5 separate regions of the Homo sapiens genome follow, and all the other regions are linked to region 2. Evidence: promoter capture Hi-C in 16 types of primary human blood cells and fetal thymus (Javierre and others, 2016). All regions are on one chromosome and are shown on one strand. The core of a region is centred on a gene start or on the middle of the fragment in contact, and the rest is flanking DNA. Distances in the headings are between cores, read along the strand shown.

Region 1 (5,617 bases), core at 2,793-5,292, 700 kb after region 2:
AAAGAAAGAAAGAATAAAAGACTGTAGGGTGGGCCCGGTGGCTCACACCTACAATCCCAGCACTTTGGGAGGCAGAGGCAGGTGGATCACCTGAGGTCAGGTGTTCAAAACCAGCATGGCCAACATGGTGAAACCCACTATCTACCAAAAATACAAAAATTAGGCCAGGTGCGGTGGCTCACACCTGTAATCCCAGCACTTTGGGAGGCTGAGGCAGGTGGATCATGAGGTCAGGAGCTCAAGACCATCCTGGCTAACACAGTGAAACCCTGTTTCTACTAAAAATACAAAAAAAACAAACAATTAGCCAGGCATGGTGGCACACACCTGTAGTCCCAGCTACTTGGGAGGCTGAGGCAGAATTGCTTGAACTCGCAGTGGGTTGGGGGGGGCCCAGAGGTTGCAGTGAACCAGGATCACGCCACTGAGACTCCGTCTCAAAAAAAAAATAAATAAATAAAAGGCTGTAGAAGACAGCTAGATGTGATGGTGAATCATGGTAGCGATAGCAAATTAATTTTTCTTTCCCAGTTGCATAATCTTTTTAATACCATTTAATATTTATTACTTATTTCCTCTCACAACCACTATGTAGTTTCCAAGTAATAAATTTCACTATGGACGTCACAGCACTCAGATAAAGAATTTCTGAAGGATTTCCTTCTTTCTTTTTTTTTTTTTTTGAGACGAAATCTCACTCTGTCACCCAGGCTGGAGTGCAGTGGTGCAATCTTGGCTCACTGCAGCCTCTGCCTCTTGGGATCAAGTGATTCTCCCACCTCAGCCTCCAGAGTGGCTGGGATTACAGGTGCCCGCCACCACGCCCAGCTAATTTTTGTATTTTTAGTAGAGAACGGGTTTCGTCATGTTGGCCAGGCTGGTCTCGAACTCCTGACCTCAAGTGATCCACCTGCCTTGGCCTCCCAAAGTACTAGAATTACAGGGGTGAGACACCACGCCCAGCTGATCTTTAAGTTACGTTAACCACATTTTTAAAAACTTTTGAGGCCAGGTACGGGGGCTCATGCCTGTAATCCCAGGACTTCGGGAGGCCAAGGTGGGTGGATCACCTGAGGTCAGGAGTTCAAGACCAGCCTGGGCAACATGGTGAAACCCCATCTCTACTAAACGTACAAATAATTAGCCGAGTGTGATGGCACGTGCCTGTAATCCCAGCTTCTCGGAAGGCTGAGGCACCAGAATTCCTTGAACCCAGGAGGCAGAGGTTGTAGTGAGCCGAGATCGTGCCACTGCACTCCAGCTTGGGCGACACAGACTCCATCTCAGAAAACAAACAAACAAACAAACAAAACACAACTTTCAAGGCCAAGCATGGTGGCTCACACCTGTAATCCCAGCACTTTAGGAGGCCGAGGCGGGTGAAACACTTGAGCTTAGGAGTTCAAGACCAGCCTAGGCAACAGGGTGAAACCCTGTCTCTATCAAAAATGCAAAAAAAAATTAGCCTGGGGTGGTGGCACGTGCCTGTAATTCCAGCTACTGGGGAGGTTCAAGCAGGAGGATTGCTTGAGCCTGGGAGGTGGAGGCTGCAATGAGCCAAGACACTGCCACTGCATTCCAGCCTAGGGGACAGAGCGAGACCCTATCTCAAAAAATACAAATAAATACAAATAAAAATCAAGAAAAGAGTTTTTTGAAAAATTAAAAATTAAACACTTGTTTTTTTGTGTATTATTTCAACTACCAGAACACTTATCTGCCATTATAGAAGCACTCTAATAAAGAGGGGTCTAAATTCAAATTACAACTTCTCTTTAAGTATTAACTGTTCTAACCTCACACACTCAAGGTAACTCAAGGTAGCAGATGCAATGAGCATTTCTGTTTCTTAGTATTGCTCTAATAAAAGATATGAAAAACAGCCTGGTGGTGGCAGCATAACACAGTTTCTGAGGAAAGGTATAAAACACAATGAAAACCCCAGGAGAAACATTAGAAAAAATGTAACCAGTAGGAAAATACAGGTGATTCCGAGCAATTAAAAACATTCTAATCAAAACTTCTAAGTGAAGAAAATAGCTTTAGTCAAATTCCTAGATACAGGAGTGATGTGCTATAGGGAGAAATGAGCACAAACACTAAAACACACCTCTACCTGATTCTTTAGGTGATGTTTACCTAGCAAACATATTGAAAATGTTTATTTATAATACAGTACATACATCTGCACTCTCTTGAACACCTAATATTGTGTCTCCCATTGCTGGCGTGCAATGTTTACTTACTGAATGATTGAATAAGGTAGTTCCAGAAAAAATATACATGTGGCCGGGCGTAATCCCACCTACTCAGGAGGCTGAGGCAGGAGAATCGCTTGAACCCAGGAGGCAGAGGTTGCAGTGAGCTGAGATCTCGCCACTGCACTCCAGCCTGGGCGACAGAGCGACACTCCATCTCAAAAAAAAAAAAAAAAAAGGAAGATACACATGTGTTCTGTTAAGTACTTTGTCTTTGGTAATTTACAAGTTTTGTTTTTTTTTTTTTTAATGAAAGCAGAGGAATCTTACAAAGTTCCTGTTAAAGTGGGTAATTCTAGGTATATGACTTTATCAACATCACTCAAGCATTTACTCAGTATCTGCTCAGGATACTCAGTAACTGAGTATCCTGTTCATGATACTGGAACTGAGGAAAGAAACTGAGGAACTGAGGAAAGAAAGCCCTGCAGATAAAATAGGGCCCTACTCTTCTCAGAGAGCTCAAAGTGAACGATAAGGATCATAGACCGGGTGCGGTGGCTCACGCCTCTAATCCCAGCACTTTGGGAGGCTGAGGCCGGCAGATCACCTGAGGTCGGGAGTTCAAGACCAGCCTGACCAACACGGAGAAAGCCCGTCTCTACTAAAAATACAAAATTAGTCAGGTGGGCATGGTGGTGCACGCCTGTAATCCCAGCTACTAAGGCATCTGTAATGCCAGAGACTGAGGCAGGAGAATCAATTAAACCTGGGAGGCGGGGGTTGTGGTAAGTAGAGATCACACCATTGCACTCCAACCTGGGAAACAAGAGGGAAACTCTGTCTCAAAAAAAAAAAAAAAAAAATGATAGTTGACATTCCTCTATCTAAAGGAGAAAATAGTTTTAAGTAAGAGATCATGTTGGTACCTAGAACAACCGAAAACAATGTCAAACACTAAAACCCCAGACCTATCAAGGAATCTGCACAACAATAAAAAACTGTCTCAAGCAAAAGCTATACAAAAAACCCCCAAAAACTAGTAAATCTAAGCTCTTTCTTTTCTTTCTTTTTCTTTTTTGTTTTTCTTCTGACAGAGTTTCACTTTCGCCCAGGCTGGAGTGAAGTGGTGTGATATTGGCTCACCGCAACCTCTGCCTCCTGGGTTCAAGCAACTCCCTGCCTCAGCCTCCGGAGTAGCTGAGATTACAAGCGCCTGTCACCACGCCCGGCTAATGTTTTTTGTATTTTCAGTAGAGACGGGGTTTCACCATCTTGGCCAGGCTGGTCTTGAGCTCCTGACCTCGTGATCCACCTGCCTTGGCCTCCCAAAGTGCTGGGATTACAGGTGTGAGCCACTGTGCCCGGCCTAATTTTTGTATTCTTAGTAGAGACAGGGTTTCACCATGTTGGCCAGGCTGGTCTCGAACTCCTTACCTCAGGCGATCCGCCCGCCTCAGCCTCCCAAAATGCTGGGATTACAGGCGTGAGCCACCACGCCGACCTAGCCACCCCGACAGGCCGGTTTCAATCTTTTAAAAGATGTAACTAGCACATATAGATCAACTGTAGCATTGTAAAAGGGAAACAGATATTCAAATAATTTGCTCCATGAGTAGAAACTTTAAAATCATCATTCCTGGCAATATTCCACTTTTACAATCCACCGATGAATAAGACAAGTGACCTGAAATTGCGTTTATGCTTTCTACATCCCATTATGTAAAATAATTAAGCTTATCCTTCACACCTTAAATGTATCATATCAAAGGCTGAGAGACCTTCGAAGGTCGCCAGGATAAATGTATCACATCAAAGACTGGGAAGGTTTCAAATTTCACCCTTAATACTACAAGTTCTAATTAGGAATCATTTTTACATACTTGCATATAAATTATACCACCCAGGTGAAAACCGGCATTTCAGTTGATTTATTCAACTGATAGAAAAAGAAAAGCTTACAGTCGCTACTGATCACTATTTAAAAACCGGAAAATAAAAAACGTACAATTAAATGCCCTCTTCTGCGTAGAGCTAGGTAGTTTTTTACAACCATACACATCCATACAACCGCCATCCCTTAATTTTTCTAATATTTTCGTCTCGCATATCAAACCAAAACCAAACCTCTCTCTCTTCCGGGAGCGAAGAGCCCTTTCACTCCCTTCGGAAGATGCGTAAATTTCAAAAGAGGAACATAGCGCTGGGGGAGGGTAATAATCTGCAGCTCAAAAAAACCGCGGGTGGAGAAGACGACCCCGGCCCCCGAACGCCTGCTTCTAAGACAAAGCTCAGCACCGCCAACCTCGACAAACATACAAAGAAGAAATACAAAAGCTTCTTCTCACAGTTGGGCGGAGGATGGGGGGCGGAGGGACGGAGGGACGTGAAAAGACGTTACAAACGGATGGCACGGAGAGAGGAGAGGGCCGGGAGCCAGGCAAGCTCGCTGGGGCCCTCGGCGGGGTGTCTAGGCCCGGAGAGGATCGCTGGGAGACCGGCCTCAAGTGACCACCTCCCGAGCCCCGGGAGCCGGAGGCAGCGGCGGGGGCATCCTTCCAGCGGCAGGGGAGGAGCCAGCCCACCTCTCCCCGATGCGCTCGCAGCCAGCTCAGGCAGCGCTCAGGGAAGTGTAAGCGGCGGTGCAGCCCCGCGGCTCCGCAGTAATCGCGCACCGCCAGGCCTCCGCGGACAGCGCTGAGGGCTCCGCGGCCCAGCGGGGGTTGACGCAGTGACTGGGGGAACGCGGCGGCAGCGGGGGCCGCGAGGGCTGCAGAGATCGAGACAACGCCGGTCCCCGCCCTCCCGCGCCTCTAGCCGCAGGCCGGCCGCCCTCCTCCCTCCCGCGCCGCAGGCTTGGCCCGCGGCCCCCTCCCCGCGCCCGGCGCTCCGCCGCGCAACGTCCTACCTGCAGGTGACCTGTTTAGTCCAGCCGCCGCCGCTGCCGTCGCTGCCGCCGCCCCCTCCGCCCGCCCCCAGGGACGGGGCGGTGACTGTGGGGATCGGGGTGGGGGAGGCTGCTGCCGCCGTCGCCGCTGCCGCTCCTGCTCCTGATGTTGTGGCTGTTGTTCCGGGAGTTGCAGCCTCCGCCATTACTGTTTATCCCACACAGCAAAGGCCCCGGAACTTCCGGGATCACATAGTTCCGGTCCGGCTGCGGGGAGAGGACGGCGAGGCCAGGCGAGGGGAGGGGAAGGACACTGAGGCACCCGTTCGGTCCCCGCCTGCTACGCGTCGCGTATCTGAGCGCTCTCGCCACTTCAACTGCGGGCCCAGAGCATGCGCGCCCGCGGCCCGCCCACGGCGCCGCTCATTGGTGGAGGGGACGTCTCCTCCGGAAAGGGGCGGGGCAAACGGGGGTCTGTACAGGTGTGTCCTAGGCTCGAAACCCCGGCGACGAAAGTCCATAGTTAGCGGCT
Region 2 (5,874 bases), core at 1-2,500:
ACACATCGAAGTGTAAAAACTTAGTTGATTCTGGGTTGCTTTCTGGCTGGAAGCTGACAGAACGGACTGAAGAGAAACGAAAGACAGTGTGCGAGGCAGACCTACTGCTTTTCTGCCTTGCGTTCTTTTCTTTCTTGCTAAAGGCAGTCAAATGGGGAAAAATACCCCGATGCCAGGTGAAGGTGCACAACACAGATCGACCCAGACCGAGCCAGAAAAACGTCTCCGCCGCTCCCCCGGCTGGAAAACCCAAAGTCCACGTCCCCTTCCACACGCTAATGAGGGGAGATTTTCGCCTATTTCATTGTTCTGCCTGGCTCTGACATGGACTTTTCATCTCTCTCCTCTCTCCCCACCTAGCCCCGTGCATTCCGATTCCACAGCCCCCCCAAAATCGGAGGCTCGCGGAGAATAAAGGAGCGTGGGGTGGGCGCGGAAAGAAATGGGAAGGGGCGCGGGGCGGAGAGCGAAGTGGAAAGGAGGTGCTCCGAAAGGTAATGTGGGGGGGCGGTGGAAGCTAAGCCGCATCACCTTCATTTATCGCAAATAAATAAAAAGCACAGTCACCGGTCCGCCTTCCCCGGCGTCCCTGCCCTCCCCGGGCAGCCGCCCACCCTCGCACACGCCCCCTCCCCTCCTGCGCCCCCGGCCCCTCTCCCCGCCCTGGAAGCAAGACCCTGCCGGCGCCGGGTCCCGGTCATCTTCCGGGCGAGGGAGGGGGTCGCGGCCCCCTCGGGCCCCGGGTGGGGGCTGGGGCAGGCGCCGGGGGCTGCGGGCGCGGGGCCGCGGGCAGAACAAAGCTGCGGGGGCCGCGGAGGGCGGCGGGCGCGGGGTCGGCGGGGCCGGGCGCCCCTTACCTTCGTACACGGGGGCCATCGGGGCCGGGGTGTCCGCGGTTCATGGCAACGGGGACGGGAAAGCGGCGCGCGAGCTCGGCCCCCCCAGCCTCAGTCGGAATCTGCCATCTTGAGCCTGTGTCTCCGCTCTCGGCGCAGCCGAGGCCGCCCGCGCCCGCATCACCGCCTCCCGTGGCCGGCGCCGGGGGAGGGGGCCGGGCGCGCCGCCGCCGCCGCCGCCGCCGCTGCCGCCCGGGCCCGGCGCGGGGGGCTCGGGGCTCGGGGCTCGGGGCGGCCGGGCGGGCGGAGCGGCCGAGGCCGAGGCGCCGAGCGGCCGCGGCCCCCGAGCGGATCCGCGGAGGGGCGGGAGCCGGGGGCAGCGCGCGGCCAGGGCCGGCGGGGCTCAGCTCAGCATGGCTGGGCGCGGGGGCTCCGCAAAAGTTGCTGGCGGAGGGGGGCGGCGGGCGGGGGCGGGGGCGGGGCGCGGGGCCGGGAGAGCCACAGGGAGTCCGCGCGCAATCGAGCGCCGATGGCACGGATGCGAGGCGGGGAAGGCCGAACCGAAGGGCAGAGCCGCGCCGGCGGCCCGAGGGGACCGCGCTGGGAGGGGCTGCCGCGCAGCGCGGGGGGACTGGGCGCAGGGCGGGCCCCGGGTAGTGGGTGAGAGGGCCGGCCTGGACCCGGCGGGCGCACGGCTCCGAGCCCAGCGCAGCCGAGCCGGTCTGCAGAGGGGCCCCCAGAACTTTGTGTGTGTGTGTGCACGCGCGCGCGTGTGTGCCCAGGTGCGAGGGTTCGCGCGTGTGCTGGCGGGGAGGGAACCGACCCGAAAGAGAGCCCCACGCTGGCAAAGTGGCTCGCCCATCTCACAGCCGGTTGGCGCTCGCGGAGGTAGGAGTGGAATGAATGAATGAAGGAGTGGGCGCGCGCCGTGCTCCGGAGGAGGGCGGGTGAGTGGAGGAGCTTCGGAAAGCCACACGAGGTCAGAGGCACCGAAGCCCTGCCGTGCACGCCGCGGAAATGCAGCCCCCGGGGTGGTCGCTGGGTTCCTGCCGGAGTCTGGCTTCCACGCCACCCTGATCTTCTCCTCCTCGCGTCTACACTGTCCCGAGGGCCGCCACTCCATCACTTGAATGGGAGCTCACAACTCTCTGGGTCCTCGCTTTTCTCAGCGCTCTCTCCTATCAGGGCTTCCGCTAAACACTCTCCAGACTCTCCCCAGCCGGGAGCCTCTCCAGGTTTGCTTCTCCAGCTGCCTCCCGGATGCTTGGATAGGATGCCCTGCCATCCCCTCCAACTTAGGAAGACTTGTTGAGTCTCCTCTTAGGCACTGTTTTTAAAACTGTGGGTCGTGACACAGTAATAGATCATAAAATAAATGCAGCGGAAGGCAACCAGCTTTCAAAAAGAACGAAATGGAATCCAATAGAAAATATTAGAGTCCATTGCCCTTAGTAAGGGCAACTATTGTTTCATAAACCTTTTGTTTCGATTATAGGTACTGGACAAGTGTACTGGACCATGATGTCAATTTTATTTCCGTCTGTGAATCGTGGGTTTAAAAAAGTTGAAAAGCTATCTGTGTAAAATAATGATCTCTAACACTGTATAACTTTCTTAAAAACAACCTCGTGATTTTCTCACTACTTCTTATCCTTTCCGGTCTCCATCCTCCGTTCCCATCCTTCAGTCCTTCCCAAAAAAGGCAAGCTCTTTCACACTTTTTTAGTGGTACATCACGACACCTTCCTCTGTGTGATCTTGTACTCTGCGGTCTTCCTTGCCCCCATAATCAATGCTACACTTCCTATCCCTTCTCTTAACCTAATGCCATTCACGTTTGCAGAATCCTAGACTACTGTTGCTAAAAGGACCTCAGAGGTCATCTGGGCCAGCCCTGCCCTTTTAGAGTTGAAGAAATGGAGTCCAGAGAAGTAAAATCTGTTGCCCAATGTCACACAGTATTGAAGCTTAGGAATAGGTCTCGTGGCTCCCACTCTAGTGTTTTTTGCTCCACACCGGTCATTTATCTCCTTCCCTTCTATCCTCCCTGCAATCTTTAACTTTAGTCTTGGCCCAGGTCATCCTAAATATTGCCATCTTCATAATACGTGGTTCTGGCCATGCCACGCTCCTGGCTAACATCCTCTAAGGACTCAACCTCTGCAGGTGGGGCTGAGTGCCTTGGCTTTTCATCAAGGCAGGCGAGTCCTGACTTAGCTTTCTAAGGACATGAGTTCAGCAAGTCACTGCTTCTCTAGCCAAACTGGTTTACTTGTAGCCCAGTGCCAGCTTCACCCATCTCTGTCACTGTGCCTTTGCCCAAGCGGTCACTTTCCCACCCACTTTCCCAGAGGGGTACCTTCTCCATCTTCTCTCTTTAAGCAGATTCTACCTGTGCCTGGCTCACCTCCTCCACAAAACAGCCCGAGATAGCGTGGGAGTAAGTCAGACCTAGGTTCAAATCCTAGCTCTTCCACTTAACTATGTGATCTTGGTCAAAATGCTTAACCTCTCTGAGCCTCAGTGTCTGTATTTTGATTATGAGAAGGAGAACAATAGTAATGTTCTCCTTTTGCATCTGTAAATCTCTATCATAGCCTTCACCACACAGGTATGTAACTCCCTGTTAATACATACCCTACATGCATGTCTCTCTGCCCCTTTCTAGTGCTGGCCATTAGAACTTGCTGCCATAATGGCAGTGTAGCTACTTATGTCTGTGGAGCACATGAAATGTGGCTAGTATGACTGAGGAACTGAATTTTTAATTTTAATAACCATGGGTGGTTAGTGGCTACCATTTTGGACAAGGTGTCTCTAGACTGTAAGCTCAGTAAGGACAGAAACCATGTTTTTCTTGTTTTGGATTGTATGTCCAATAACTGCATTGCCTAACGCATGGTGAGTACTGCACACATATTTGTTGAATGGATGATAGCTGCAATTTGTTGCATGCTCCCTTGTGTCCAGCACAACACTACAAACTCGATAAAAGGCATTTCATATAGTCCTCATCACAGCCTCTGAGGCTGGGTTAGATTAGAGAGAGAGTTTTATATAGAGGGCAGACACATAGTAGGGGTTCAATAAAAGTTATTATTATTCTAACTCCTCCCTCTGACCAGCCCCACTGACTTTTGTCTCATCTTTCCTTAGGCTCACAGAACATTTCCTGCCTGTTGCTCACACTCTGTTGTCCACAGCATACCCGCACCCTAGATGGCTGACTCTTGTCTTCTGTGTAGGTACCCTGTGTTCATAACTGGATTGGCAGCGTCTTGGAGCAAGGCCCTGCTTTATAGGACTGCCCCTGAATTCAGCACTGACCAGTGTTCAGTAACTGCCTCTAAGTCCATCCCAGCTGCTGTCTAGCAGTGAGTGATTCTAGGCAGTCTTAAAATGAATATCACTTGTGTCAACCGAAAACATTTTACAGGTAGTCTCCTCCCCATAAGAAGGGAACAATCTTGGGCAAGGAAATAGAGTCCCATGGAAGGGGAACAAGATGGAGCCATACAGACAGAGGTCCACCTTCTCTTCAGACCACCATGACTGAAGCTGTATCCATGAGATGCAAAACATGCATTCAATTGAGCTAGCGAAGTTCGTATGATATAACGGAAAAATATTCTTGAAATGAGCTTAGATTTTCCTTCATGAATTGGCAGACTGAGTATACTAATTGTCTCCTTTCCTTCCGGTGACTGCAGTCAAGTGGCAGCAAGGTATAAACCTAACAGTGAAATGTCACTGAAGGAGAGCATGGGAGCTGGGAGGAGAGAGGATCTGTGACAGAACCTGGGGAGTACCAGTATTTGAGACATGGGAAGAGGAAAAAGAGCTCCCCATGGACAAGAGGGCAGAGAAGTTGGAGGACAGCCAGGACGGGGGATTCCTCAACATCCCAGCAAGGTCAACAGTGCTGCATGCTATTGAGAGGCCCACGTCAGATGAAAGCAGAAAAGCAGCTGGGTGCTGTGGCTCACGCCTGTAATCCCAGCACTTTGGGAGGCTGAGGCAGGCAGATCACCTGAGGTCAAGAGTTTGAGACCAGCCTGGCCAACATGATGAAACTCCATCTCTACTAAAAACACAAAAAAAATTAGCCAGACGTGGCGGTGGGCACCTGTAATCCCAGCTACTTGGGAGGCTGAGATAGGATAATCGCTTGAACCCAGGAGGCAGAGGTTGCAGTGAGCCGAGTTCTAGTGCCATTGCACTCTAGCCTAGGCAACAAGAGCTAAATTCCATCTCAAAAAAAAAAAAAAAAAAAAAAAGGCAGAAAGGCATCAATTGGATTTAGCAACAAGAGTTGCATTAGTGACTTTGGTGAAACTAGTTTGGAGGGAAATACAGGTTTCTTAAATTCTACCTGAATATGTGTCCTGTTTTATGGGTGGAGATAGTAGAAGGATGGGGAGGGCTAAGGAGGTACCAGAAAAGAGCACCAGAGATTGCTCCAAGCAGAGAGGGCCTTACCAGTCATGGGCCTGAGACAATGAGAGGGGTCTGGGAGCTGTCCCATTTGGCTAGAGATAGTGTGCATTGTATTTTATTTATTTAATAAGCACATTAGCAGTCAGTGTTCTAAGGAGTTTAATCAATCATTTAAAAAAATCACTTTTTTTTTTTTTTAACAGTACATGGAACTCTAGGTTGCCAAAATACCATTTAACTTCAGGGTGCATTGAAGAACAATAATAAAGGCAAGAAAACTGGAAAGGATTTAGTAACCATTTATACCAGTTACCTCTCCTTAATTTGCCTTTCTACAAAATGGTGCAAGTCATATCTTTCTCAGGAGTTGGTAGAGTGAACATGGGGGAGCTTTGACCTCATTTCAAGTTCATTTTGCTTACAGGACATGGAACAAAGGGTCTTTTTTTTTTCATGTATGCCTATAGTTGTGAAACTGCACAACATCACAATATCTTCAAGGCCACAGGATAGAGATAACCCTCTTTTTGGTGTATGCATTTAGGTGTGTATGTCTCTCTTACTCTCAGGGTATTCTTAGCATGATGTCTGTGTGGCTTGT
Region 3 (5,637 bases), core at 1,002-3,501, 570 kb after region 2:
TCAGGAGATGGAGACCATCCTGGCTAACACAGTGAAACCCTGTCTCTACTAAAAATACAAAAAAATTAGCCGGGCGTGGTGGCGGGCACCTGTAGTCCCAGCTACTCAGGAGGCTGAGGCAGGAGAATGGTGTGAACCTGGGAGGCGGAGCTTGCAGTGAGCCGAGATTGCGCCACTGCACTCCAGCCTGGGTGACAGAGCGAGACTCTGTCTCAAAAAAAAATAGGTCTGACTCCCTGAAAAGGGGTCCTCCATAACTTCCTTTTAGGAATAAACTGTCTGTTAAATCACCATGATGACCAGTGGGGACAGGAGACCACAAATCAGACAGCAAAACATGAAAAAAGGAAAAACTGTCAAAGCCATCGGCTATCCCTTACAAAAACAAGTTGTGAATGCTATTTTTGATTTTTCTTTTTAATTTGAAAGATAATGAATTAAGAACTATGCCTTGCTGGGCATGGTGGCTCATGCCTATAATCCCAGCACTTTGGGAGACCAAGGCTGGGGGACTGCTTGAGGCCAGGGGTTCAAAACCAGCCTGGGCAACACAGTGCCCTTATCTCTATAAAAGATAAATTAGCCGGGCATGGTAGCACGTGCCTATATTCCCAGCTACTTGGGAGGCTGAGGTAGGAGGATGGCTTGAGCCCAGGAGGTTGAGGCTGTGGTGAACCGTATCGTGCTGCTTGAACCCAGGAGGCTGAGGCTACAGTGAGCTGTATTGTGCCACTGCACTCTAGCCTGGGCAACAGAGCAAGACCGTGTCTCAAAAACCAAAAAAACTGTGCCTTACAGTATATTGAGGCCAGTAGGTGGGCACAGTGGCTCACGCCTGTAATCCCAGCACTCTGGGAGGCCGAGGTGGGCAAATTGCCTGAGCTCAGGAGTTTGAGACCAGCCTGGGCAATACAGTGAAATGCCATCTCTACAAAAAATACAAAAAAATTAGCTGGGTGTGGTGGTGCATGACTGTAGCCCCAGGTACTTAGGGAGGATCGCTTGAGCCCAGGAGGTTGTGGCTCCAGTGAGCCAAGATCGTGCCACTCCAGCGTGGGCGACAGAGCAGTACCCCCATCTCCAAAAAAAAAAAAAAAGAAAAAAAAAAGTGGCTAGTAAATATTCACTAAAATAAAATTTAGCAGTTATGGTTTGCTAATAGGACACAATCTTTAAAAAGCAGGGATATGAATCTTTCAAGCAACAATGTCACATACAGCACCATTCTGAGTTGTAGGGGCTATTGGACATCTGGTGTGTCCTTATCAGATAGCAGGCAGCTGGACAATTTCAACTTCAGAGGATACAGAATATGGTGAGGTCTAACGGTGGCAACCTCACCTTTGGCTCTGGATTTAAGAATACGGGCAGCCAAGTTCAAATACAGTAATAGCAGATTGCCTAGCACAGACTGTGTGCTTTCACAAGCTCACGGCAGTTGAGTCTCACCACAATTCTAAATGTTAACATTATTGAAGGTTATTAAGATCTGGCACAGCCATGTAAGTAATACCCACTAAAATACATTCTGCTCCTCTGCCTTACTTCCTTGTTCATACTTATTACCTCCTTGTTGATACTTCTAGCTACAGCAAAAAAAAAAAAAACCACTATTAAAATCTTTGTTTATAATGAAACAACTGTAAAACATTCACAAAAATTAATCCCTGCTGTTACGTCTACCTCTATGATCTGACGACCTACACACTAAGGTGTATTTCCCCTTTATCCTCAGCAGATATGTTCCATGACCCCCGTGGATACCTGAAACCACAGACAGTACCAAACTCTATACATACTATGTTTTTTTCTATACATACATACCCACGATCAAGTTTAATTTATAAGTTGGGCACAGAAATTAACAATAACGACAAAATAGAAAATAATAACAATATACTGTAACATAAGTTATATGAATGGTCTCTCTGAAAATATCTTATTGTACGGTATTAAGAGTAACTGAAACTTCGAAAAGTGAAACCACAGATAAGTGGGGGACTGGTGTATTCTTCCTTATTAGGCTGGGGAAGGTGGGGAAGGTGGGAGGTAGATACAATGAACACGTTCATATTCTAACTTGGATCTCTGACATACAATTAGCTTTAGAGCTAAGATATCACTGAGAAAGCCGTATGAAAGGATTGCATTTAAAGAGATTCCCATGTGCTTCCCGAGACAAAAGAACTGATCCATCAACAAAGGACTAAGAAAAAAGAGTCCAATAAATCACAGCGCTGCCTTAGGCTAGGTCTTCCTTTCTATGGACCTCTTGTTTTTTCTTTTCTTTTCTTTTCTTTTTTTTTTTTTTTTGAGTTTGGCTGTTTACTAGTAGGACAGTTTAGGGAAAATGGCTGTAGAATAAGTAATAAAACTTTAAATGAGGCCAGATTTCACAACCCAGTAAAAGATCACTAGTGACTAACTCTTTATTATGGAAAAGATGTATCACCGGCATACCTATGATCCCTCCAACGTCGTACCAAATGGACAGCTTGTCGGCTTCCGCCTCCTTCCAGCCGAAGTTGTTACTCAGATAAAAGGGGAGCCAGAAGAAGAAGGAGTAATTCACTAACTTCAAGCAGGCGTAGGCCAGTGAGTACTACAAGAAAAGCATTCAACTATCAGCGAGGGACAAATAGCACAGCACGACTACCATTTTTAATGTCATTTAAAAGCAAAACAAAATAAAGGAAGTTAGGATGAACAGAACCTGATTTTACAGTTAAACATCTCTACAAACTCCCACATGCCTGACTTCAGCTAGTCTCCCTCTGCTCTTCATCCCTGTTAACTTCTAGACAGGCATGTACAGCAGGCCTTTGGAATAAAAAACACCTATGGCTACTTCTTAGCTGTGTCCAGTTTCTCCTCCTATCAGTTCTCTGGTAGAAGCAAGCCAGTGTTTTGAACCTATAAGGCAGAGCACATACCCATATTTCTTTATTCACACAAAGAGGAATGGTATTCATGCCACTAACCAGCGTTAACCATAGGCAAAGAAGTCCAGGAAGCATCACGGCCTTTACTGGGAGCAGCCAAACGGGGTTGGTTATTCTACTCCTTGCCAAGGCAACACTGTGAACAATGGACAGCAAAGGGACTACACTACAGTTCCACGGTCTAAGAAAAGCAGCAGCATGATAATTCCTTTCACACTAGTTTTCAAAAGCTCCACATTCCCTGGTCTGGTGGCAAAGAAGAGAGTCTCTCTGGCGAGTCAAAAATGAAAGAACATGTCATCATCGGCCTCGTGGCTCTCCCTTGAGGGGAAAAAAATGCTGCAGCTGCATGAAGATGGTGGTGGGGCTGAGACTCCTATATTCAACACATTACTACCAGGAAATCCTGACATTCAGCATCAAAGGAAAAAGGGGGGGGGGACAGAGGGGCTGACTTCAAAGGGTGTCTGGCTAGTATATTCTTTTCCCTGGAGCTGCCAGTTATTCCCTAGGTATCACTTGTTTTAAAACAGCTTCCCTGGCAGGCAACAGCCACCCCCTAGAGAGCCAAATCCCAATCACGAGTGCATTCTGACCAGACAGCCTGCTACAAAGACAAAGGAATTAAGTTAACTAGATTTCCTTTACATCCCTGCCCATGTCAGAGAACAATAGCTTGTGAAGAACAAAGGAACAGCAAAAGAGGTCCATATTTAGTCACGACAAAGTTCTTTCTCAAAAATTAAACTATTACCAGCAGAGTACTTTAAAAACCAGTTAAAAGATAATAATCAATAGCATAAGAACAGGTCTAAAGCAACCTGCATTTCTCTTATATCATATATCATCACTGGGTTAAAGAATTGTGGAAAATTACATTTTAATTCATACTTAACTTTGTTGGAAATGTTAGTTCTCTCAGCTTGGAGGCACTGACAGAAGGGGATTGACAGGCATGTATTAAGATGGCCTACAGATCACTCTACCTGAGGGATCACATTCATAAAGCACCATTGACAAATGAAATAACAACAGGTGCTTGTTCAAAACACAACAGCCCAATGTTACAGGCCCCAGGGAAGAGTGGAATAATTTCTATTCCATGGGAAGGGGAACTGAGACACACGGACGGGTTGCGTGACTCACCCCAGGTGTCACAGAAAGTTAGTGGGTAAGCTGGAAACATAACCTAGGCCTCTTAACTTCCACTCCAGTGCTAGAGTGCCCGAAACATCAAGACAGAAAAACTGCAGCAGAAGGGATTTAGTGTAGACGTTAGAAGGCTTTCCTGACTGCACAGGCTGTGGAAAACACTGGAATGCATTACCAAGAAAGACTGTGGAGTGCTCTCTTCTGGACCCTTTAAAAGGGGGCAAGCCAGGCGCGGTGGCTCACGCCTGTAATCCCAGCATTCTGGGAGGCCAAAGTGGGCAGACCATGAGATCAAGAGATGGAGACCATCCCGGCTAACACAGTGAAACCCTGTCTCTACTAAAAATACAAAAAATTAGCCAAGCATGGTGGCATGCACCTGTAATCCCAGCTACTCGGGAGGCTGAGGCAGGAGAATCGCTTGAACCCGGGAGGCAGAGGTTGCAGTGAGCCGAGACTGCGCCACTGCACTCCAGCCTGGGTGACAGAGCGACACTCCGTCCCAAAATCATAAATAAATAAATAAAAAATAAAAGGGGGCAAGGCAGACTTAGGAACCATTCACAACCCTTCTTCTTGGTCCACATATAATTCTATAATACTTCGAAAGGCCCAAAAGCACACATTAAAAATTATCAATTTTGCCTTTTTAATCACATACCAGATCAGGGTCAGGAAAGCAGAGCTCTTTGGCCAAGTCTGGCCACGTCTAACTGTCCCATGTTTTCTGTGGCTTATTTTGTTCTACAAAGCTGAGTAGTTGGGGGAGAGACTGGATGGTTCCCCGAAGTCAAAAATATTTATTCTCTGCCTCTTCATGGAAAAGGTTTGTCAACCCCTGCATTAGAGATCAGATAAGCTGAGGGGCACTAGACAACATTCCTCAGCACGTATATTCCTAAAATAAAGTATCCAACAGAGGCTCAATACTTAAGGAAGCTTTATCTCAGGCAGAGGAGATGTCACGGGCTCTCATACCTCCCTGGCTGTGGTAAGATGTAAGCGGTCCTTACCGGTATGACTCCAGGAAGGCAACATGCCTGGTAGAAGCTTATCGCCTTGACTTGGGCAACAGAACTATCATCTTGGATTGAATAATTCGGCTCATATTCGTCTTCATTTTCACCACCATTAATTAATGGCCTGTGTGAGTCTTCTTCAAAGTTTTCTTCTGCCTCAATACCCGAGAGACCTAAAATAACAGCGACAGCCACTGTTTATGGAGTGCCTACCACGTGTGAAGGGCTCTGCATACATCCCTACTTATGAGGTGATGTTATTTTTATTTCCATTTTACAGAAGCAGCAACGAAGGTCCAGAGACCGAGGTCAACTAAGGTCAATTAAAGTCACACAGTCTATCTAAAAATACTCAAAAGATAGAAGAATTGTACATCTGTTTGCTTCTGTGGTTTCATTTGTATGTAATCTGTATTTAACTACAGGTTAAGTATCTTTTTTGTGCATCATTTTTATGGATGAAAAGAAATGTTTCAAGAAGTGAAATCAGAAATACATCTATGTTCATTCCTTGCCAGTGTCTC
Region 4 (5,301 bases), core at 329-2,828, 520 kb after region 2:
AGCCTTGAACTCCTGGGCTCAAGCAGTTCTCCCACTCAGCCTCCTGAGCAGCTAGGACTACAGGCATGCACTACCACACCCAGCTTGCTTTTACTGTTTCTGTGAAAGGAATCATGTTGTATATGACTTGCTTCTTTTCCCCCTCCTCAAAATAATGGTTTTCTTTTTTGTTGTTGTTGTTCTTTTTATTTTGATGAAGTCTCGTTCTGTTGCCCAGACTGGAGTGCAGTAGCATGATCTCAGCTCACTACAACCTCCGCCAACCAGGTTCAAGCGATTCTCCTGCTTCAGCCTCCAGAGTAGCTGTGATTACAGATGCTCACCCCAGCTGATTTTGTATTGTTAGTAGAGATGGGGTTTCACCATGTTGGCCAGGCTGGTCTCGAACTCCTGACCTCAAGTGATCCACCTGCCTCTGCCTCCCAAAGTGCTGGAATTACAGGCATGAGCCGCCACACCCAGCCCCCACTCAAAATAATGGTTTTCTTGATTGATTCCTGGCTCACTGATTGCCATCTTCTCCCTGAGTCCTCACATGGCCGAACTGGTGAGGGAGCTCACTGGGGGTTAGGATTTTTACATATGAATTTCGTGGGGCACACAAATATTCAGACCATTCCAGGACTGGGACTGCAGGTGCAGGCCACCTCACCTGGCTAATTTTTGTATTTTTAGTACAGACAGGGTTTCACTATGTTGGCCAGGCTGGTCTTGAACTCCTGACCTTGTGATCCATTCACCTCAGCCTACGAGGGCTCACCAGAGCCCTGTGAGGAGGAGTTGGAATGGCCACTTTATTTATGCAGCAGTCATTGATGAAAACCCAGTTTCACCCACACTTGTGGATGGAGAGGGAAGCAAGGCTCCTCATGCCCTCATTATGCAATTTGTGGGTAACAGCCTCCAGGTCTCCAGTGGTTTCTATGGGGCAGGCAGTCCAGGGCCCTAATGTGGGCTTCAAGGGCTGGTCACCAGTCGATTACCCACTGGGGTAGCCCAACTTCAGGCTCTGGTCACCACCCAGCGGTTGGAAAATCACCTTCAAAGGTGCTGTGAGCAGGTGAACGTCACAGACCCACACGAGAGCACGGGCTGGCTTGGGAACTGCTGTCCTGTCGGTTAACAGCCCAATAGGTTAACAGGATAGGCCTAGGCTACTTTTACCAGATCCCTGGATCTCCCTAAAAAAAGGATCCTGACAATACCGGTCTCTAGATCCTTTCTAGAAATGCAGAATCAAATGCCATACCAGAGGACAAATGAATCTGAATCTTGCTTTTTTTTTTCTTTTTTTCTTTTTTGAGATAGGGTCTCACTCTTGCCCAGGCTGGAGTGCAGTGGCGCAATTATATTATGTAATAGGTCACTGTAGCTCTGACACCTACCCCGCCAACCACGGAGCTCAAGCGATCCTCCCACCTCAGCCTCCTGAGTAGCTGGGACTACAGGCATGTGTCACCACGCCCAGTTAATTTTTTATTTTTTTGTAGAGGAGACAGGATCCCCCTGTCTTGCCCAGGCTGGTCTCAAACTCCTGGGCTCAAGTGACCCTCCTGCCTCAGCCCCCCAAAGTGCTGGATTTACAGGCATGAGCCATTGCACCTGGCCTGAATTTTGCATTTTAGTAAGATCCCAAGTGACCTGTACCCACGTTCAAGGTTGGGAAGGACTGGCCTACATCTTTCATTGTGTGTGTATTTTTAAATAAATGTTTTTATTAAAATAGAGCACACATACAGAACCATTTGATAAATTATCACAAAGTGAATCCATAGAGGCACCCAGCCCCCCGATTAAGAAATAGAATAGGGCTAGGGTTAATAGCACCCTAGAAGTTCTCTTTCCCAGACACTCACCCCCAACCCTGGTCCCCAAAGGTAACCAATATTCTCGCTTCTAATGGCATAAGTTAATTTGATCCACATTTGTTCTTCATGTACATGGAATCATATTGCACGTATTTTTTTGTGTCTGGCTGCTTTCGTTTGTGAGATTCTAAAATCCTCACTAGGAACCCCAGCCTTCCACTGTGTACTTACACATTTTATACTGCTCTCTCATGTTTCCTGAGTCTTCTATCCCCAGAAAACTGTAAAGTTAAGGAAAGCCCATTTTATCCAAATAAATATTTAGCGAGCACCCACACTGTGCCAGGATTGTGGGGGGCTGAACCCCAACATGTGTTGCCAAATCGAGAGTTCCGTGTCATGTGAGGCATCTTGCCTAAGTAGTTTTCAGGGATGTGGAAGATTCACGTTGGTATGTGATTTCAATCTCTGAAAGGAATTTATTACCTGCCCTAAAGACACCCCAAACTGCACTTCAGCACACAGCTAACAAGTGACAGCAGGCTTCTCGCTTATGTCTTTAGAACACATCATAAAACCTAGTTCCCAGGAGCTGCTGTCTCGATGATTTCTGCTTTTCTTCAAGTGTTATTTGGTTAAATATTGAGATTCCCTCAGCTAAAAGTTATAAGTCTCTCAGAAAGCTGTTGATGCTTGTTCTTCTCAGGGCTTCCAGAAATAAATTATGCACGGACACTTTCCCCATTGATGGTTGTGACACTTAAGCCCTCTTGTTTGTTTAATTTTTAAAATATTTTTGAGACAAGGTCTCACTCTGTCGCCCAGGCTGGAGGGCAGTGGTGCAATCATGGCTCACTGCAGCCTCAACCTCCAGGGCTCAAGTGATCCTCCCACCTCTCAGCCTTCCCAGTAGCTGGGACTACAGATGCGTGCCACCACACCTGGCTAGTTTTTGTATTTTTTGTAGAGACAGGGCTTTGCCATGTTCCCCAGGCTTGTCTTGAACTCCTGGGCTTAAGTGATCCACCCGCCTCCATCTCCCAAAATGACAGGATTACAGGCATCAGCCACCGTGCCTGCCTTCTTGTTTGATTTGTTCACTGTCAGTGTTGCTGAGACCAATAGTCAGTCACCTTCTTTCTGGGCCTTGATTTTCTCATCTCTGAAAAGGAGGAAATGTATTACATCAGAGGTTTCTAACCTGAAATCCCTGGATCTCCCAGGGAATCCATTAATCCCTGGAAATTATATGGAAGATTATGCATGTGTGTATTCGAGGGGAAGGGAGTCCGGAATAACTACCCCCATCCCCTCCCAAAATTAAACACCATCATGCTCAGTAATACCCAATAATTTTTTTGTTTGTTTGTTTTTTTGAGACAGAGCCTCCCTCTGTCACCCAGGCTGGAGTGCAGTGGTGCAATCTCGGCTCACTGCAACCTCCGCCTCCCAGGTTCAAGCAATCCTCCTGCCTCAGCCTCCCGAGTAGTTGGCATTACAGGCACCTGCCACCACACCTGACTAATTTTTGTATTTTTAGTAGAGACGGAGTTTCCCCATGTTGGCCAGGCTGGTCTCGAACTCCTGACCTCGAGTGATGTGCCTGCCTTGGCCTCCCAAAGTGCTGGGATTACAGGTGTGAGCCCCCACATCCAGCCCCCAAGAACATTTTGGAGCACTATCATTCCACAATCATGTGGCTACTTGTGTCAGCTGCAGAGCATCACTTTTGCTAAGTGTCTGGTTCCAGCTGAATCTTAAGAAAAGGTGATTCACTTTGCCTTTTTCCTTCCATAAGTTTTTCTGCCCTAACAGAAAGAATACTGTAAAAGTGCAACACCTCTTAATAGCGTCGCCCTCTGATCTCTTCAGGTGAAGGTCATTTCATTTAAAATAGCAAGGTCCTGAATCACGTCCATCAATTTTCATATAACCTCAATCTGGGTCCTTTTGTATTTGGCTGGCTTGTTTTCTAAATGCTGGAGCTATTCTAACCCTCAGAACGTGTCTGCAGGTCTGGTTATCATAACCAAATGGATGGGAGACGGGAGCATACCAATATATTTGGAACAATTCAACAATCCAATTTTCTCTACCCAGAGAAACAGCTCTGCAGCAGCCCCGAATGGCTACACATGCCAGGTTTGCCTAATTGGACATGGGTGTTAGCCCATCACCTGAGCAAAGGAGGGAAGCAGAACCCTCCCTGCCTGTCATGTTCAGAGCTCATTAGTTCCCACACAATCACATTAGGTTACAGATTTTCTGTGTGCCAGTTCCCCAGCGGTACCCTAGCAACAAGTTGAGCCAACAGTTTTCATTACAAACTGCCTTGGTCAGTATAAAGGAACCATCTTATATTTCTTCCAGAGAGCAAAACATGCTAGACTCTTAAGTGTTCTTAATAATTGGCTTCACTGCAGATGATAGAGGTGGTTTCAGAACTCATCCTCTTCCTAAAATATGTATTTCTCTGTTCTTAGTTCTCTAAAGAAATAGAGCTCCATGGCCTAGCGCAGTGCCTCACGCCTGTAATCTCAGCACTTTGGGAGGCCGACGTGGGTGGATCACCTGAGGTCAGGAGTTCGAGACCAGCCTGACCAATATGGTGAAACCCCGCCTCTACTAAAATTACAAAAAATTAGCTGAGCGTGGTGGCATGCGCCTGTAGTCCCAGCTACTCAGGAGGCTGAGACAGGAGAATCTCTTGAACTCGGGAGGCGGGGAGGTTGCAGTGAGCTGAGATTGCGCCACTGCACTCTAGCCTGGGCGACAGAGCAAGAGTGCATCTCAAAAAAAAAAAAAAAAAAAAAGGAAAAAAGGAAAAAAGAAATAGAGCTCCATGATCAACCTTTGTGACTCCAAGTGTGGCCCACGAACCAACCACCGCAGCATCATTTGGAGATTGCTAGAAATGAAAACATCTCAGCCCCACTCCAGACCATCTGGGCTAGAATCTGCACTTTAACCAGATCTTCAGGTGACTCACACATGCAAATTCAAAAAGTACTCCAGAGAAATCACCCAAAGCCCCACTAGTAGACAGTATCTGCCTTACATCTGTGACCTTCTAGCAAGTAATTCATGATCACTAAATGTGAGCCTCTTTCCTTCTCCCTGTTAAAACCCAGGGCACCACCAGAGAAGCTTAGAGGGAGGAAGGGAAGGAGAAACAGGCCCAGAAGATGAAGAACTTGGAGAGAGAAGGAGTAATGAAGATGGAGGAGTGAAAAATGAAAGGGCTTGGGGTGGCCTTCAGAGCCTCCCCATAAGGGGTTTTAGGCCTTCAGGGTGTTCTCCGTAGTCACACACTGCCTCCTAGAGTTACTTGGTTAATAGTCTCTAAATAGGACTCACTTTTTAACTTTGATGACTTTTGAAAAGAAATGCATGTCTCAGGTTTTATGTGCATGTTATAATTTTTCTTTTTGAGACAGGGTGTCACTCTGTTGCCCAAGCTGGAGTGCAGTGGCACTATCTCAGCTCATGGCAA
Region 5 (5,973 bases), core at 2,370-4,869, 590 kb after region 2:
CCTATGACCCTGCCAAATCCCCCTCTGCGAGAAACACCCAAGAATGATCAATAAAAAAAAAATAAATAAAAAAATAAAAAAAAAAGAGCAAAACTCCGCCTCAAAAAAAAAAAAAAAAAAAAAAAAAGAAAGGAGCGGGATGTTAGCGGCCTGGAAAGCAGTCCAGCTTGGCTGGAGCAAAGCGATGAAGCAGAGTGACAAATATGATGGGAAGGCAGGCTGGGGCCAGGGTGTAGTGAATGCCAGGCCATTTATTCAGACTATTAATTAACTCTGCTGGTGCCTGAGGGACAACAAAGGAACCTGATTAGAATCTTACTTTAAAAAGACTCATCTGGCCAGGCGCAGTGGCTCATGCCTGTAATCCCAGCACTTTGGGAGGCCAAGGCAGGAGGATCACCTGAGGCCAGGAGATAAGACTGGCCAACATGGTGAAACCCCGTCTCTACCAAAAATACAAAAATCACCCAGGCGTGGTGAGCTGTACCTATAGTCCCAGCTGCTCAGGAGGCTGAGGCAGCAGAATCGCTTGAACATGGGAGGCAGAGGTTGCAGTGAGCTGAGATCGCACCACTGCACTCCAGCCTGGGGTAATAGAGCAAGATTCTGTCTCGGGGGGGAAAAAAAAGACTCATCTAAGTGAAAAGGCAAATGAGGGATTCGAACAATGAGGATTAATCTTACTATTCTATTCTACAGAGAAGTAGGGAGATTACTTAGATTCTAAAATACCTGACCAAAATAATAATAATAAGACCTTTCAACTTACCACTAATGCAGAAGAGCACATGCCAAAAGACAGAACCCATCGCAAATTCAACCGATCCCCAACGATGCCACTGATGAATAGGCCCTAAAAATAAAGCATTTTCTTTTACAGCTCTAAATAATAACACAGTATGAAAAAGTAACATGCACTGCAAAGCAAATGAGACAAACACAGATATTATTTAAAATTAACTCTTATACACATGCCGAGGCTACCTGTCTACAGGAGTTTCACAAATGTTTCATGAAATGGCAGTGGGCTGGATAACATGGTCAGTAATACAGTGAAAACAAAAAAGTTATGAAAATAGAAGGAAAAAAATATTAAAAAAAAAAAGAAATGGCAGCGGGCACACTCTACCACAAACACACCAAAGTTCAGGGCAAACTTTGGTTTTACTTGATTCCCTAACTGGAAAAAAATAAATAAATAAGAATGACTCTAATAAAACAAGCACACAAATATACTTCATTTTCTAGACTAGATTAATTCCTACCCATCAGTGATAAGCTATCCCAAAGGGATTCCTCTTAGCCATCTGCACTCTGGGTTAACGTGTTACCACACGCCCTGCAGTTTCAGTTCCAACCTTGTAAAAAGTGGAATAGAAGGTTCCAGGGCACACTAGCTGCCTGTTGAATCTGACCCTTGGGTTTCATGACATCCCAAGGCAGGGAGAGTAGGAAGGCAGAGACAATAATTAGCTGGAGACAGGTTCTGCCTTCTGCTCTCCTCCCACTGAGTGGCAGGAATTAAAATGCTGAGATCATGGCAGGAAGTGAGACTGAAGACCTTAAGCGCAGCACACTTTAGGTTTCTTCCATAAATATATAAAATATCTTGACTGAAAACCTAAATTCAGTTAGGACCAGGTGTTTCTAATAAATTGACTATCTCTAAAACTTGGCTGGGCGTGGTGTCTCACGCCTGTAATCCTAGCACTTTGGGAGCGGGGAGAATTGCTTGAGGCCAATAGTTCAAGACCAAACTGGCCAACATAGCAAGAACCCATCTCTAAAAAAAAAAAAATTGGCCGAGTGCAGTAGCTCACACCTGTAATCCCAGCACTTTGGGAGGCCAAGGCAGGTGGATCACCTGAGGTGAAGAGTTCAAGACCAGCCTGACCAACATGGTGAAACCCTGTCTCTACTAAAAACAGAAAAATTAGCCAGGCATGGTGGCTTGCGCCTGTAATCCCAGAAACTTGGGAGGCTGAGGCAGGAGAATCACTTGAACCCAGGAAGCGGGGCTTGCAGTCAGCCGAGATGGCACCACTGCACTCCAGCCTGGGCGATAGAGTGGGACTCCATCTCAAAAAAAAAATGAGAAGATAAATTTAAATATGAACGTTTCTCCCTCATTATCATCAAGCTTCCTCATCTTAAGAGAAGCATGTCAGCCTTAAAGTAGATTCTATGTTGTCTAGCTGCCCCTCATATGGACTTATGCTACACAGAACAAAAGGGATGAAGAAAATCTCAATTCTGCTTCAGATGACAGAACAATACATGCTTTTTTTTTTTTTTTTTTTTTTTTTTTTTTTTTTTTGAGACAGAGTCTCACTCTGTCATCCAGGCTGGAATGCAATGATGTGATCTTGGCTCACTGCAGCCTCTGTCTCCTAGGTTCGAGCAATTCTCCTGCCGTAGCCTCCCGAGTAGCTGGGACTACAGGCCTGCCAATTTTTGTTTTTTTAGAGATGGGTTCTTGCTATGTTGGCCAGTTTGGTCTTGAAGTATTGGCCTCAAGCAATTCTCCCCACTCCCAAAGTGCTAGGATTATAGGCGTCAGACACCACGCCCAGCCAAGTTTTAGAGATAAGTCAATTTATTAGAAACACCTGGTCCTAACTGAATTTGCCTGGCTAATTTTTGTATTTTCAGTAGAGATGGGGTTCTGCCATGTTGGCCAGGCTGGTCTCAAACTCCTGACCTCAGGTGATCTGCCCTCCTTGGCCTCCCAAAGTACTGGGATTACAGGCGTGAGCCACCGTGCCCCACCAGAATCAATACATTCTGTTTTGCTGCAGAAAGCAAAATGCCCATAAGTTACAGAAGGAAGTGCAGCTCAAGATAAAAAAAAAACCATGACCATTGATTTTTCATGGCATTGATCCTTTATGTCCTAAATCTAGTCCTATAGATGACTCCATAGATGAGGAAACTAAACACCAAAAAAAGGTTAAATTCTACTTCGCAACCAAGTTTAACACAGCTAGTTAGACTACACTGCCTCTTAAACTGGTCCCTGAAAGAAATGAGTGGCTCGAAGAGAAGCGAGCACCCTGTCACCAGCTCCAGCCAAAGCCCCGTGCCTCTACATGGGGATTTTATACAGAAAATACCCAAGGTGAGGAGGTAGACTAAATGAATGACCAAAGAACTGTTCCAACTGTTTCTCTGTTTCCTCTTTGAAGAAAAGATACTCTTAATAATTAACCAAATAGGCTGGGCGCAGTGGCTCACACCTGTAATCCCAGCACTTTGGAAGGCCGAGGTGGGCGGATCATTTGAGGTCAGGAGTTTGAGACCAGTCTGACCAACACGGTGAAACCCCATCTCTACTAAAAATACAAAAAAAATTAGCAGGGCATGGTGGCACATGTCTGCAGTCCCAGCTACTCAGGAGGCTGAAGCAGCAGAATTGCTTGAACCCAGGGGGCAGAGGTTGCAGTGAGCCAAGATTGTGCCACTGCACTCCAGCCTGGGCAACACAGCAAGACTCCATCTCAAATAAAAAAAAAAATAGGCCAGGCATGGTAGCTAACGCCTGTAATCCCAGCACTTTGGAAGGCAGCGGTAAGTGGATCAACTGAGGACAGGAGTTTGAGACCAGCCTGGCCAACACGATGAAACCCCATCTCTACTAAAAATACAAACATTAGCTGGGCATGATGGTGTGCACCTGTAATCCCAGCTACCCAGGAAGCTGAGGCAGGAGAATCACTGGAACTAGGAGGCGGAGGTTGCAGTGAGCTGAGATAGCACCATTGCACTCCAGCCTGGGCAAGAGAGCAAGACTCCGTCTCAAAAAATAATAATACAATAAAATTAAATAAATAAATAAAAATAACTAACCAAATAAACATTTAGAAACTACTTCAGAACTTTTACCCAGTATTTCACATTGCCTGGACATTGAGAATTAAAAGGCGTTTTTAATAAGGCACACTTAAAGACAGAAATAAGGCATACTTAAAGACAGCATCTTATATGCTGGGGAGAAAAGGAAGGCTCCTCTCACAGTCCACGTTCCAGCTGCTGCCACCATCAGCTCCAGAACTCTAATGTGGCATCCACCACAGCTGTTCCTACAGCCAGACAGAGACGCCAGCTGCCTATCCTGACGCTGAATTACTCCTCGCCACCGTGGAATGTCTCCCAGGGTGCTACCTCTCCAGGATCCCACCTTCCTTTTTTTTTTTTTTTTTGAGATGGAGTCTCATTTTGTCATCCAGGCTGGAGTGCAGTGACGCAATCTCGGCTCACTGCAACCTCCTCCTCCCGGGTTCAAGCAATTCTTCTGCCTCAGCCTCCCAAGTAGCTGGGACTACAGGCACCCACATCTGGCTAATTTTTGTATTTTTATTGGAAATGGGGTTTCTTCATGCTGGCCAGGATGGTCTCAAACTCCTGACCCCAAGTTATCCACCTGCCTCGGTCTCCCAAAGTGCTAGGATTACAGGCGTGGGCCACCGCGCCCAGCCCCACCTTTCTTACCACTCCACCCCCGCTACCTGGCCCATTCCTCACCCACCTCTGAGGACTGGAAGCCCTAGGGCTCAGGTTTCACACCTCTTCCCCGCCCTCGCCTGTTCTCTTGATCAATTCACGCAGCCTCACAGTTTTGATCTATAAATCATCTAAAGGCCAAGGACTCCGAGCGCAGTGGCTCACGCCTGTAATCCCAGCACTTTGGGAGGCCGAGGCAAGCGGATCGTCTGAGGTTGGGTGTTCCAGATCAGCCTGACCAACATGGAGAAACTCGGTCTCTACTAAAAAAACACAAAATTAGCCGGGCGTGGTGGCGCATGCCTGCAATCCCAGCTACTCAGGAGGCTGAGGCAGGAGAATTGCTTGAACCCGAGAGGTGGAGGTTGTGGTGAGCCAAGATTGTGCCATTGCACTCCAGCCTGGGCGACAAGTGCAAAACTCTGTCTCAAAAATAAAAAATTAAAAACATAATAATAATAATAAAGGCCAAGGACTCCAAAAACATGTATCTTCAGACTGAACCTACACCTTGAACTCCACACTCAATGACCAAGTGTCTGCTCTTCATCATCTGGGCAGCAGAGGTCAAATGTAATGCATCCAAAAGCGAGTCATCAAAGCTTTCTATCTCCCCAGTCTCCCCTCTGCCATGACACTTCCACCCTGGAGGTGTTCTTGACACATTTCTCTTACATTCCACATTCAAGAGGGAAAAAATATTATTGGCTTTACCTCCAAAACACCGCTAAAATCTACTTCCCCCCAACCTCTATTACTGTTGCGCTGGACCCAAGTCACCATCATCCTTCACCTCAAAAGAACTCGGCTCCCAGAGCAAGTGCACCTATCCAAACCTAAGTCAGGTCCTGCCGCTGCTCTGCACAAAACCTTCCAGCAGCTCCCATCTCACTCAAGGTTAAAGCCAAAGCCGCCCCAAAGGTACCAAAACCCTACAGATCTGAGCCCCACCGCATCTCTGGCCTCTCTTCTTGCAGCTCTGATCCAAGCACACCGACTCGCTCACCTGCTCAGGTCTTCACTCAAATGCCCGCTGCCTCCTGAGGTCTCCCGGCTGTGCTACTTAAAATTACAACCTCACCCAGGCCCCTTTAGTCCCCCTTCTCTGCTTTATTTTCCTCCGTTGTACTTACCACCTTCAAATATACTCTATAATTTATTTGTAGCATTTGGTTACTGTCTGTCTCCCCTAACTCCAAGAATACAGGTCCATAAAGGCAGGGCATTTTGTGTTGTTCGGGATAAATTCCCATTGACATATGCTAGATGAGCAATAAATATCTGTCGAATGAATGAATAAATGAATGGGAAGAACAAACAATATAAACTTCAGAAATACTGAACTCTGCCTCAGTCAGCAAATTCAAAATCCCTTACAAATTTTGTAAGGCTCAGGGTCATTTATATTTACATTTTTCTTTAGCTTTAAGCCCTAGAGTTCCAAAACTTACCACAGCATAGGAGAAGAGGAAA

What was found. Contacts are between HindIII fragments. The CHiCAGO score rates a contact against its expected background, and 5 or more counts as called.
Region 1: a fragment that was not itself captured here is called in contact with the fragment with the promoter of HIPK2 in region 2 in 1 of 17 cell types (total B cells); the score reaches 5.0 in total B cells.
Region 3: a fragment that was not itself captured here is called in contact with the fragment with the promoter of HIPK2 in region 2 in 2 of 17 cell types (M0 macrophages and M1 macrophages); the score reaches 9.2 in M0 macrophages.
Region 4: a fragment that was not itself captured here is called in contact with the fragment with the promoter of HIPK2 in region 2 in 2 of 17 cell types (naive B cells and total B cells); the score reaches 7.4 in naive B cells.
Region 5: a contact is called between a fragment that was not itself captured here and the fragment with the promoter of HIPK2 in region 2, in 1 of 17 cell types (monocytes). The highest score is 6.7, in monocytes.

Annotation. Positions count from the first base shown.
Region 1 is chr7:140,474,054-140,479,670 of GRCh38, forward strand. MKRN1 (makorin ring finger protein 1) reads right to left here and starts at 5,452. Exons shown (of 8, transcript NM_013446.4): 1 at 5,107-5,452. The coding sequence starts at 5,291. RefSeq lists silencers at 4,683-4,762, 5,043-5,182, 5,473-5,582 and an enhancer at 4,718-5,558. The HindIII fragment of the contact is 221 bases long and covers 3,933-4,153 here.
Region 2 is chr7:139,776,748-139,782,621 of GRCh38, forward strand. HIPK2 (homeodomain interacting protein kinase 2) reads right to left here and starts at 1,251. Exons shown (of 15, transcript NM_022740.5): 1 at 858-1,251. The coding sequence starts at 876. It also overlaps a transcript of TBXAS1 not described here. RefSeq lists silencers at 847-936, 1,367-1,596. The HindIII fragment of the contact is 7,054 bases long and covers 1-2,801 here.
Region 3 is chr7:140,346,166-140,351,802 of GRCh38, forward strand. SLC37A3 (solute carrier family 37 member 3) reads right to left here. Exons shown (of 15, transcript NM_207113.3): 9 at 5,108-5,286; 10 at 2,461-2,602. Among named protein-coding and RNA genes, the nearest start is that of SLC37A3, 50 kb to the right of the region's middle. The HindIII fragment of the contact is 5,560 bases long and covers 1-5,031 here.
Region 4 is chr7:140,299,588-140,304,888 of GRCh38, forward strand. It overlaps LOC124901758 (a long non-coding RNA gene), which reads right to left. Exons shown (of 2, transcript XR_007060560.1): 2 at 1,696-2,970. Among named protein-coding and RNA genes, the nearest start is that of SLC37A3, 96 kb to the right of the region's middle. The HindIII fragment of the contact is 6,750 bases long and covers 1-4,953 here.
Region 5 is chr7:140,363,639-140,369,611 of GRCh38, forward strand. SLC37A3 (solute carrier family 37 member 3) reads right to left here. Exons shown (of 15, transcript NM_207113.3): 4 at 5,952-5,973; 5 at 770-853. Among named protein-coding and RNA genes, the nearest start is that of SLC37A3, 32 kb to the right of the region's middle. RefSeq lists enhancers at 1-438, 4,111-4,612, 4,613-5,112. The HindIII fragment of the contact is 2,962 bases long and covers 2,139-5,100 here.